Linked DNA regions of Homo sapiens: all the other regions are linked to region 3. Evidence: promoter capture Hi-C in 16 types of primary human blood cells and fetal thymus (Javierre and others, 2016). All regions are on one chromosome and are shown on one strand. Each heading gives the region's core, a stretch centred on a gene start or on the middle of the fragment in contact. The rest is flanking DNA. Distances are from core to core; before and after follow the strand shown.

Evidence for each region. Contacts are between HindIII fragments. The CHiCAGO score rates a contact against its expected background, and 5 or more counts as called.
Region 1: a contact is called between the fragment with the promoter of SMIM3 here and a fragment that was not itself captured in region 3, in 1 of 17 cell types (neutrophils). The highest score is 6.4, in neutrophils.
Region 2: a contact is called between the fragment with the promoter of RBM22 here and a fragment that was not itself captured in region 3, in 1 of 17 cell types (fetal thymus). The highest score is 5.2, in fetal thymus.

What each region holds. Positions count from the first base shown.
Region 1 is chr5:150,777,416-150,780,805 of GRCh38, reverse strand. SMIM3 (small integral membrane protein 3) reads right to left here and starts at 2,049. Exons shown (of 2, transcript NM_032947.5): 1 at 1,834-2,049. It overlaps LOC124901110, which reads left to right and starts at 405. Exons shown (of 2, transcript XM_047417995.1): 1 at 405-899; 2 at 1,255-3,390. The coding sequence starts at 1,685. The coding sequence ends at 2,326. RefSeq lists an enhancer at 666-1,527 and a silencer at 1,965-2,154. The HindIII fragment of the contact is 6,508 bases long and covers 1-3,390 here.
Region 2 is chr5:150,699,065-150,702,614 of GRCh38, reverse strand. It overlaps RBM22 (RNA binding motif protein 22), which reads left to right and starts at 1,553. Exons shown (of 11, transcript NM_018047.3): 1 at 1,553-1,683; 2 at 2,118-2,171; 3 at 3,344-3,373. The coding sequence starts at 1,630. RefSeq lists enhancers at 758-1,534, 1,535-2,311. The HindIII fragment of the contact is 2,219 bases long and covers 1,459-3,550 here.
Region 3 is chr5:151,116,414-151,120,027 of GRCh38, reverse strand. ANXA6 (annexin A6) reads left to right here. Exons shown (of 26, transcript NM_001155.5): 18 at 638-728; 19 at 2,191-2,270; 20 at 2,848-2,901. Among named protein-coding and RNA genes, the nearest start is that of TNIP1, 37 kb to the right of the region's middle. The HindIII fragment of the contact is 8,685 bases long and covers 1-3,614 here.

The DNA of each region.
Region 1 (3,390 bases), core at 800-3,299, 340 kb after region 3:
CTCTTTCCTTGGAGGTATTTCCTTTGCATGTTTCAATCCATAGAGAAGAAATGGAGGCACAACGTTTAAAGGATTGGCGTATGGCTGAGAAAGCATCTGAGGCTGTGACTGGCCCTTATCCCCTTGGTCTGTCACCCCCAAGGGCCCAGGATCTGACCTGACCACAGGCCCCCAGAGTCTCTCATTTGTTTTGCATCTCTAACACCTCACCGCGACTCAGTGGTTCTCTGGCTGTTCTCTGGGACTCCCCAGATCTTTAGTGTCATGGAGCCACAGTTCTGAGGTTCGGAGAGGTCACTTGTGGGAGAGTTCATGAAGCATGACTTGTAACCCCCACAGCATGATTCACAGTCCCAGGACAGCTGGGAACAGGAGGTCCCGGCTGGAGCAGGAAAACACTTTTTAGTTTTTTTCAGTTGTCACTGCAGAAGCACATGATGTCCTAAAGCTCAGCTGTGCTGCTTTGCGTGTGTCTAGATGGCTGCTGTGCGGCCTGCATAAACCAAAGAGCATGTCATGCTCAACCACAGACAAACATCTGTTCCACTCCCATGTCTTCATTTTACAGATAGGGAAGACAAGGGCCAGAGAGGGGAAATGCCTCCATTAGGGTAATTCAGAGGGTCTCCTAACCCCCAGAGTACCTGTTCTTCCCGCTCCCACCTCCACCTAATTCAGGCATCCCCAATCCTTCCAAACTATGTGGCCACTGCAGTAGCAGCACGCATCATAGCAGATGTTCAAGGAATCTCTGATACTTGTGTGATTGCGCAGCCTTCACCACCACACCCTGGAGCTTTGAGGACCTTAGTATTCACCACAGATGAACCGGAGACTCCTCAGCCCCCAGGTGCAGCAGGATTCCAGCTGGTCCAGAAGAAACAAGTGCAGCTGCATAAGTAAGAGCCCAGCCTGGCCCTCAATCAGAATAACAGCCCCTGAGGTTTGTTTCAATTTGTGGGGGGGGCGGGGGGGGTTACACCTTTCATCCTTTCACTCAGTACATATGTATGGAGCACCTACTGTTAGCCAGGCCCTGCTCCAAGAGCTGAGAATGCCTCAGAGATGACGATAGACAGGCAGTCCCTACCCTCAAGAAACTGGCATGGGGGAGACTAGGGAGCAAAACAACCAGCAACTGGAACAACTACGTCCTCAGGAAAGGGACAGCTAACCAGCAGGAGGGAGCTTGAAGGAAGCCTTCTCTCCAAGATACTTTGCTCATGTCCTTTCTCCTTTGCTTTCTGCACGCAGAAAATGTTTTCCCAATTTCACTGATGGAAAAACAAGGATGGTGAAGCAGTTAGTGACAGAACCAGGGCTGGAACCCGCCACTCCTGACTCCAAACTCCTGGCGCCTTCTACACGGGGCCTCGAGAAAAGCGGGACAGGTAAGTGCAAAGACCCAAACCCAGCGCAGCGCCCAAGCAGGTGCTCAGGCCCGGGCGCTGAACCCTGACGCTGGGCCTGGAGAGCCAGGAGGTGGCAGTCTGCCCGAGGAGGAGGCTTCCCGAGAAGGCAAGGGCAGCGGACCCGGAGAGAAGCCAGTCTCCGAGTGGGGCTGGGGTTCGCCCACCCAAGCTCCGCCTCCCCCAGGCCCAAAATTCTGTGCACTAGGAGGCTCGAACTTAAGAGCTGACAGCAGGAGAAAAAGGAGGGGGTGAGGGCAAGAAATACAAAAGTGATGAAAAGGGAGAAATGGGGAGGAGAGACCGGACATAAAGAAGAACGTTGGGAGCCCGGGGAAAGGGGCCGCACTAGAGGTAGGTCGCGAATCCGAAGAGCTCCGCTCTGCCAGAGCCCCACAAACAATCCCCCGGTGGCCCCACTCACCCCAGATGGCGGCGAGTCTGCGGAAAGTTCCTGGGTCAGGGATGGCTCGGTGCTTCTCAGGGTCCCCAGGACTGCACGGGATCTGGCAGCTGGAAGCGACCCCCAGGCCTGGAACCTCAGCCCTAGGCAGCTCCTGGAACGTGCCCCGGCTCCTCCGAGCCCCGGGAGGCGGGAGAGCGCAGGAGCGGCCAGGACGCGCTGCTGGCTCTGGAATGCGCGGCTGCTGGGGACCGCCCCCGGAACGCCCGGTCCCGGGGCCCCGGCAACTCCAGCTCAGCTCCTCCTCCAGCGTCCCCTGCGGGCTGCGTTCGGGGAGAAAGGAACCTGCGAGAGAAGGGAGAGACCAGGGCGTCTCGGGCTCCCCTTCCACGTTGCCACACACTCGCCGCGTAGCCGTGGACATGTCGCTTGGCTTCTGAGGGTCTCCCCTCTCTGGATTGTAAACCGAGAGGGTTGGCCTAAAATGTGTCCTCCACGACCTTTCCAGCTATAGAGTAGACATGGGAAAGAAAGCCTAGCAAGTAGGTTTGGACAGAGGAGCCGGGACTCAGATCCTGCTTTGCGATGTCCGAAGTGTAGGGTCCTTCGGAGGCTTTGCCACTCTGTTTCATTCTCTGTAAAGTGGGAAAGGTAACACCTGTCTCCCAGTCCTGTTGTGAGGATTGGTTTAGAGGACCAGTGTGAAGCTGGTTGGTTCTCTGCCATAACATGACTTGGAGCATCCTGTTTATTTTGTGATAACAATGAAATAGCCCAATCCAAGGTGATCAAGAGCCCATTAGAATCCAGCATCTGAGAGGCTTCCCACGCCACTGTGGGTGGCCCAGCTTCCACGCAGGACAATGCCAATTCTGTAATCTTCTGCCCCCTCTATGTCATCCATGGAGTGAGGGGGGACTCCCGTCCCATGTTGGCACCCACACTTTTTAATTCACAGTGGTTTTCTTTAATCTTACTCTTCTGAAAAAAAGGAGCACAAGCCTTGACTATCAGTGAGACCTTGAGCAGTCTTGGAGCCCAGTAGTGTTTTGGAGGGTTTGGAAAGAGCCATACTGCCTTCCCCAGGCCTAAATTTGATATGGTGTGGGCCCCGAACTTAGAACTTACTCCATGCTGTTTCCTCTGATTCAGGGATGAGGTCAGCAGAAATGACCTCTAAATCATCATTATCACACGCCAGTTTCTTAAGGGAAGGACAGTGAGGATGAAGGGGATTCACATGAGAAATGATTTGAGAAAAACCCTAAGGGCTGTCACCCAACAACATGTTTTATTCAAAAGAGATAGTGTGGGAACCTAAAAACAAGGACAACCCAATTCTGAATAGTTTAATACAAAGCTCTCATTTAATAGTAAAAAAAGATTGAAGGAGGACAATCTTTTTTTTTTTTTTTTTTTTTTTTGAGACGGAGTCTCGCTCTGTCGCCCAGGCTGGAGTGCAGTGGCATGATCTCGGCTCACTGCAACAGGAGGACAATCTTAATATGACATTTTCCCTGGTTAGTGAAGGGGATGAGAGTTCCTTTGGGTGGACAACTGGTAACTCCATGTGCCCTG
Region 2 (3,550 bases), core at 304-2,803, 420 kb after region 3:
AGACAGTCTGAAGAGATGATACTTGAGAATTTTCCAAATATAATAAAAGACAACAAATCACAGATCCAAGAAGCTCAGATAAACCCAAGGACTTTCTTATAAAGGAAAAGATATACTTACCATATGATCAAATAATCTCACTCTAAGGCATTTACACAAGCAAAATGAAAACCAATGTCCATACAACGATCTGTATGTGAATGTTTATAATGGTTTTATTTATATTCACTAAAATCTGGGAACAACCCAAATATCCAGCAACTGGCAAGTGAATTGTATGATATATCCATACAATGGAATTCTACTCAGTAATACAAAGGAAGAAATTATTGATACATGTAATAATATGGATGAATCTCAACTACAAAATACTAAGTGAAAAAATATCAGATCCAAAAGGATATATAGGATTCCACTTATGTGACATTCTGGAAAAGGCAAAACTAGGGACAGAACACAAATTAGTGATTGCCATGGTTTGAGTATGGGATAAGTGGACTAACTACAGAAACAAGGGAACTTTGGGGATGACAGACAATTCCATATTTGACTGTAAGTGAATGTATGTACAAAATTCAAAACTAAAAAGGATAAAACTTTATGTAAATTATACTTTAAATCAACTTTTTTTTTTAATGAGGTGATTTAAATAAATGTGTTAGGTAGCTTGATGACACGGTAAGTATGAAAGTGGTACCAGAATGGCTTGAAACTCATAAAATATTGGCAGAGTGGTTATGAGTTATTCCAAAAATCAAATAATGCATATGTTGATTCGTAAGACCCTTGTCATTTCAGAAGCTGGAAATGAAACAGTACTAATGAATTTGTGGCTTCACCACTTTTTAGCTCCACAACCAGGAGCTATATCAGGAGAGATTAGGTTAATCTCTCTAAACCTGTTTTCTTTTCTATAAAAGAGGGATCATCATACTTGCCTACAGGGTAGAGTTACCAGATAAAATACAGGACGATTGGTTAAGTGATGTGAATTTCAGGTCAACCACGAATCCTACTTTAGGACGAGTAGGTACCATATATATTTATAATTAAAAAGCGATTCGCCGTTAATCTGAAATTCAACTTTAGACGTTCTGTAATTCGTGCGTGTGTGTGTGTGCATGTGTGTGTGTGAGTGACAGAGAGAGAGAGAGAGAGAGAGAGAGAGAGAGAGAGACAGAATCAGAATCTGGCAGCCCTACAGAGAGCCCTACAGAGAGGTTATGCGAATAAATAAGACACTGGAACCGCAAGACGTTCGCCCAGAGTTTGGCATAATAAGCGCCTCAGTGGTAGCGAACGCTATTTTAACCCCAGCCTCTGATGCATTACGTCTTCCTTTATTCTTTCGCCCAATTGTTAAATGAATCAACTGTACGTGTGGCCCTTCATTCCAAGCAGGCAAAAACTCGAAGGAAGCATCCAGGTGCATTATACCAGGACCCCAATTGTTAAGCTTAGAAATTCCAAGAGCGGGCGACGTCATGACGCAAAGGCCCCGCCCCGGAAGAAGCCCTAGACGCGTAAATAAGACGCCGACCGGCGCGGCGCTAGCCTCGGGGCTTGACGGGATTGTGGCGGTCCTCTCTCCCAATTCGGAAGCTACAGCTACCTCCGGACGCTCTCAAGATGGCGACCTCTCTGGGTTCCAACACCTACAACAGGCAGAACTGGGAGGATGCGGTGAGTGTGCCTGCCGGAGGAGGATGGAAGGAGGAGGCGAAGCCGCGCACCTTGCAAGCTGGCAGGACAGGGCCTGCGGCGCGGCCGAAGGAATACCGGGGAGGAGCCAGCGCGGCGGCCTAGCTTGGCCGGAGCAGGAGGGCGGAGGGCGATCCTCCTGCGGGCTTGAAGGGAGGGGGCTTAGCCAGGGTCCCGGGACCAGCACCCTTTCCATCCCTGCCCCCTCCAGCCTATTAGAGCTGGTTTTCTTTTCTCCCGCCGCCTGCCGGAAGTGCAGACAGCGCCCCCTCCCGCGATCGGGTCGTGATGGACTTCGGGTTCCTGCCGTGCCTAGTTCCCCACCCTCGCTTCCCGCCCCCTCGCCACCCCAAGTGTCACTGAGGTGTCAGGGTCTTCGGAGGGTGGTCCTCAACCAGATTTCCCATTTTCACCAGGACTTCCCCATTCTGTGCCAGACATGTCTTGGAGAAAACCCATATATCCGAATGGTGAGTGATCGCGTGTGAAACGAGTTATTCATGTCCTGTCGATGTTGTGGTACTTGCACACTGTGAAGTGTTTCTCTTAGACAAGCAGAAAAAATGATGCTCTTTTACTAACGCGAAGTGCTGGACGACTTGCAAAGAACTGTCATGTGTATTCTCTTACGAATCCGGTAACACTCCTGTAATGTAGGGGTAATAACGATAGCTAGTATTTGTTGAGCATTTACCTAGGAAATAGGTCTGTTGACCAGAAGGTGAGAGCGTTTGTGTCTTTTCATACAATAGTAAGGAATGGAGCTGGGATTTAAGTTCACATATTCTGGCTCTAGGAATGTCAGCATGATAGGAGGAGAACCAGAACTAGAAACTAGGTTTCCTGAATCCTGGTCAAATGCCTTTTGGCCAGTGTACTTTATCTCTTTAAAGTAAGCATTCCCCCTTTGTTACAAACTAGGGTAAAATTAGAACCAGTTAACAATAATAAGGTTAGGGCTGTATTATTGTGTAGTCGTAGAGGTGTTGATATGTTAGTATGTTCACGATGTTTGAATGGTTCAAGATGTTTGAATAGTTCTGTTTAAACAGAACATTTACTATATTCCGGGCATTGGCACAGGACAAGTCTACAGTAGCTACCTTTTGACTAAACTTTGTAAAGTGGGCGGGCCACAGCTGTATCCTCTCTGATTTAGGGATTGTGGAAAGCATTAGGAATGTTAGTTCTTGGGAGTGAACTTGGGAGCCAAAAATGAACCTAAGAGTTGTGGCTGTGGAAAGACACTCACTTACCTAGCATTAGATGCATATACTCTATTTCTTTTTTCTGTAGAGACAGCATCTCGCTATGTTGCCCAGGCTAGTCTGGAACTCCTGGGCTCAAGCAATCCTTCCACCTTGGCCTCTCAAAGTGTTGGGATTACAGGCGTGAGCCACTGCCACCCAGCCCAGATCCATATACTCTTGAGATGTTATCACTTATAATATGTTGTTATAGTATGTTCCCTACCCTCTTCCCAAAAAAGGTTGGGTTTTGGGTTTTGTTGTTGCTGTTTTTCTCTCTCTAGGATGCCAGGGATTTCCAGACACATTTCTTGGGTTATGTTTAAGGAAAGAGTAGACATCTGGCTTTTTTCTTTCTGTAACTCCAGTTCTTTTCTATTTTTTTTCTATTATAGACCAAAGAAAAGTATGGGAAGGAATGCAAAGTAAGTATGTCTGTTAAAGAGTAATGATTTCTGTTTCATTTTTCTTTTCTCTACCAAATTAGCCTTCAGCTTACTAAGTTTTGAGGTCTTCCAGTAAAAATCAGTGCTATACAACTTTTTATGTATTACTGATATATTCATTGGCTGGCAACTGTTTATGTGGGAGGTAAGAAAATG
Region 3 (3,614 bases), core at 752-3,251:
TGCTTCTGTGGCCCCAGCTACTTGGGAGGCTGAAGTAGGAGAATCACCTGAGTCTGGGAGGCGGAGGTTGCAGTGAGCCGTAATCATGCCACTGCACTCCAGCCTGGGCGACAGAGCAAGACTCTGTCTCAAAAGAAAAAAAATTTAGCATTTTATCTTAAGCACAAAACTTTTTTTCTTCTAACAAAATAATACATGTTCACTGTGGAGACTTGAAGAAATAGAGTAAAAAAGAAGAAAATAGCAATCATCTGTGATCCTTCACTCACACAGAGACCAAACTGCTAGTTAACACTGTGAGGCATGTGCGTGTCCTTCTGTTCTCTTCCAATACTTACAAGTAGAAATTTCTATTCAGATGTTCATGTGTATATGTGGTGTTATACACACACGCCTATATACCTTTTCTGTTTGGGGGGCTGGAAGGCAAAGCAGTTCACATGGGAGGTTCTGGGGATCTTGAGAGGCTGGCATAGTCAGCCTTGGTTGTGCCAAGGTCTTGGGCCTGAGGGCCATGTCTGGAGGTGAGGAGAAAATCCAGGAATGCTTGGCCTGAGCTTTAGCCGTCCGGGCCCCATGGACCTCTGCACAGGAGGTCAGAACTATGGCTGAGATCATCTTTGCCTTGACATTCCAGGGAGCCGGCACAGATGAAAAGGCTCTTATTGAAATCCTGGCCACTCGGACCAATGCTGAAATCCGGGCCATCAATGAGGCCTATAAGGAGGGTGAGTTTGGGAGGCCTGGGCCCAGATGCTGGGAGAACAGCCAGGCCCCCCAACTTCCAACCCCAGCCCACAGCTCTGCCCAGGACTCTGGCCTGTCTCCTTTCCCTCAGTCCTTGAGGATTTGATAAGCCTCTTGGGTGTGCCCATCCCTGTGTCTGGGGAAAAGACAGGTGTCCTGGTAGGACAAAGGCCTGGAGGTAGAAAAGGGCTTGGCTGGAAGTGGGAACAGAGAACATTCTGGCCTGCTGGAGAGAGGGAGGGCGACTCTAGGGGTGTGTAGTCCATGCAGTTCTACAGGGCCCCACAGCCAGAAGGGCCCCACACTTGGTTGCAAGCTATGCTGTCACTGTCCAGAAATTCTTCATTTTTAAGCGAGTGGCCCCATATTTTCATTCTGAAGAATCTTGAGTACCAGTCAAAAATGTTTAAATCGGCTAGGTGCAGTGGCTCACACCTGTAATCCCAGCACTTTGGGAGTCTCAGGCAGGCGGATTGCTTGAGCCCAGGACTTCGAGACCAGCCTGGGCGACATGGCAAAACCCCGTCTCTACAAAAAATATAAAAATTGGCTGGGTGCGGTGGTTCACCCCTGTAATCCCAGCACTTTGGGAGGCCGAGATGGTGGATCCCTTGAGGTCAGAAGTTCAAGACCAACTTGGCTAACATGGTGAGACCCCGTCTCTACTAAAAATGCAAAAATTAGCCAGGCGTGGTGGCATGCGCCTGTAGCCCCAGCTACTTAGGAGGCTGAGGCAGGAGGATCACTTGAACCTGGGAAGCAGAGGTTGCAGTGAGCCGATATCACGCCACTGCACTCCAACCTGGGAGACAGAATGAGACTCCATCTCAAAAAAAACAAAAAACAAAAAAATTAGCTAAGTGTGGTGGCATGTGCCTATAGTCCCAGCTACTCAGGAGACTGAGGTGGGAGGATCACCTGAGCCCAGGGAGGTCGAGGCTGTAGTGAGCCTTGATCATGCCAACTGCACTCCAGCCTGGGTGACAGAGTGAGACCCTGTCTTGAAAAAAAAAAAAAAAGTTTACATTTTTTATCTTATAAGCAGCTTTAAAATGGCAGAATTTTTGAGTACAGGAGTGACATAGTCAGAGCTCTGCTTTTGGGTTTAGCAACTGCCATGCAGGAGGGAAGGTAGAAGAGAGAATGACAACAGGGAGGTGACTTAAGAGGCTGTTAAATATTAAAGGCGAGATGCAATGGGACCTCAACTGGGACAGAGCTGAGGGGATGGAGGGGAGATGATGGGTTGATGGGAATGCCCATTGTCTTACAAAATCAGCAGGAGGATGGCTGGATGCCCCCATGAGCCAGTTACAAACCCTTTCATCCCCACCTCCCCCTGCCAATACTGCCCTGGCTCAAGCCTGAGTTTCCTGGACCTCCCTCCCCGCAACCAAATCCTTCTTGGCCAGCAGCTACCCACACCCCCTTTCTCTGCCTCAGACTATCACAAGTCCCTGGAGGATGCTCTGAGCTCAGACACATCTGGCCACTTCAGGAGGATCCTCATTTCTCTGGCCACGGTGAGTGAATTCATGGGCCCCAGGTCGGCTTGCCCATCGGGAGGCCTGGGAGGAAGGGAAGGTTTACTGAGTGGAGGGCACAGGGGAGTTAGAAGTGCACTCCTGATGGAGAGGGGGTGTCTCCCCACTTGCCTCCTTAGAGTTCCACCGCCTACCCCTGTTGTTCCCTTGTCAAAGTTGGCGTGGTACCACCTTCTCCAGACAGTCCTCCCTGGTGGCCCTTGTCCTGGCTTGTTGGGCCCCCAGCTCACAGGACAAAGCCATATGGGTGACCCTCTCCTGTGTTGTTACCTGGGAGCTTCTGTCACCATCTCTTGAATTCCCATAACCAAAATGGCAGACCCTCATTGACAGTTACCGAGAGCTTGCTGTGTGTCAGGCATTGGTGCTAAGTGTCTTGCACACATTCTCAGTTAATGACCACAACAGCCTACCTTATAGAGGCAGGATTTTCGTCCCTGTGTAGCTGATGAGGAAGAGCATTCAGAGAGGTGAAAATGAGCAGGGTGTGTGGTGGTACAGAGATGGAGATGGGTCGATGTTTGGGGACTGAACTTTCTTGCTGCTCCTGCTGCAGGGGCATCGTGAGGAGGGAGGAGAAAACCTGGACCAGGCACGGGAAGATGCCCAGGTAAGACCCCCAGCCCACCCCAGTCACCTCTGCCGGGTGTCCCTGAGATGTAGGTCCAGCTTATGCGTGTCTACGCCGGGCCCTGTCTGTGAGTGAAGGCTCCTGGCAGGGGCGTGGTTGGTTTGATTGGTTGATACTTAGACTGTAGAAATGAGGTTTAGAAGTGTGGTGCTGGTATTACTGGCATTTCCTAGGTGAATAGCAGGACCCTCAGAGCTGGCAGGGACCTGCAGATCACCCAGGTCAAAGCCCTCATGTTACAGTGGGAAAATGGAGGTCCAGAAAGGGCAAATGACTTCTGAAAGTCACACAGCAAATCAGTGGCCCCAGTAGAATTGACCCCTAGAGAGCTGGTCTGGGAACTTGCTGAGAAGAGGGCCTGAGTGCTAAAGGCCTCGGTTTATTATCTGTAAAATGGGACCGAGATTGGAGGGAGTGTCCTGGGACGAGCCTAGAAAGTAAGTTCCTCAAGGGCTGGAATCTTCATTTTGTTCACTGATATATCCAAAGTAACACATGATCAGTGCTCAATAAATATTTGTTGAATGAATAGCAGGGAAAAGGGTTCTCTAGGAGTCTCTTGGCTGCTCTGCCTCAGCCCTGCTCCTTAGCCTAGTGAGCTTGAGGTCTGGAAATGGCTTCTTCTGGAGGTTGGACAACCCCAAATTCATTTTCCCTGAGGGTTCTATGGCTGGGCAGTCCCTACTGAGGCC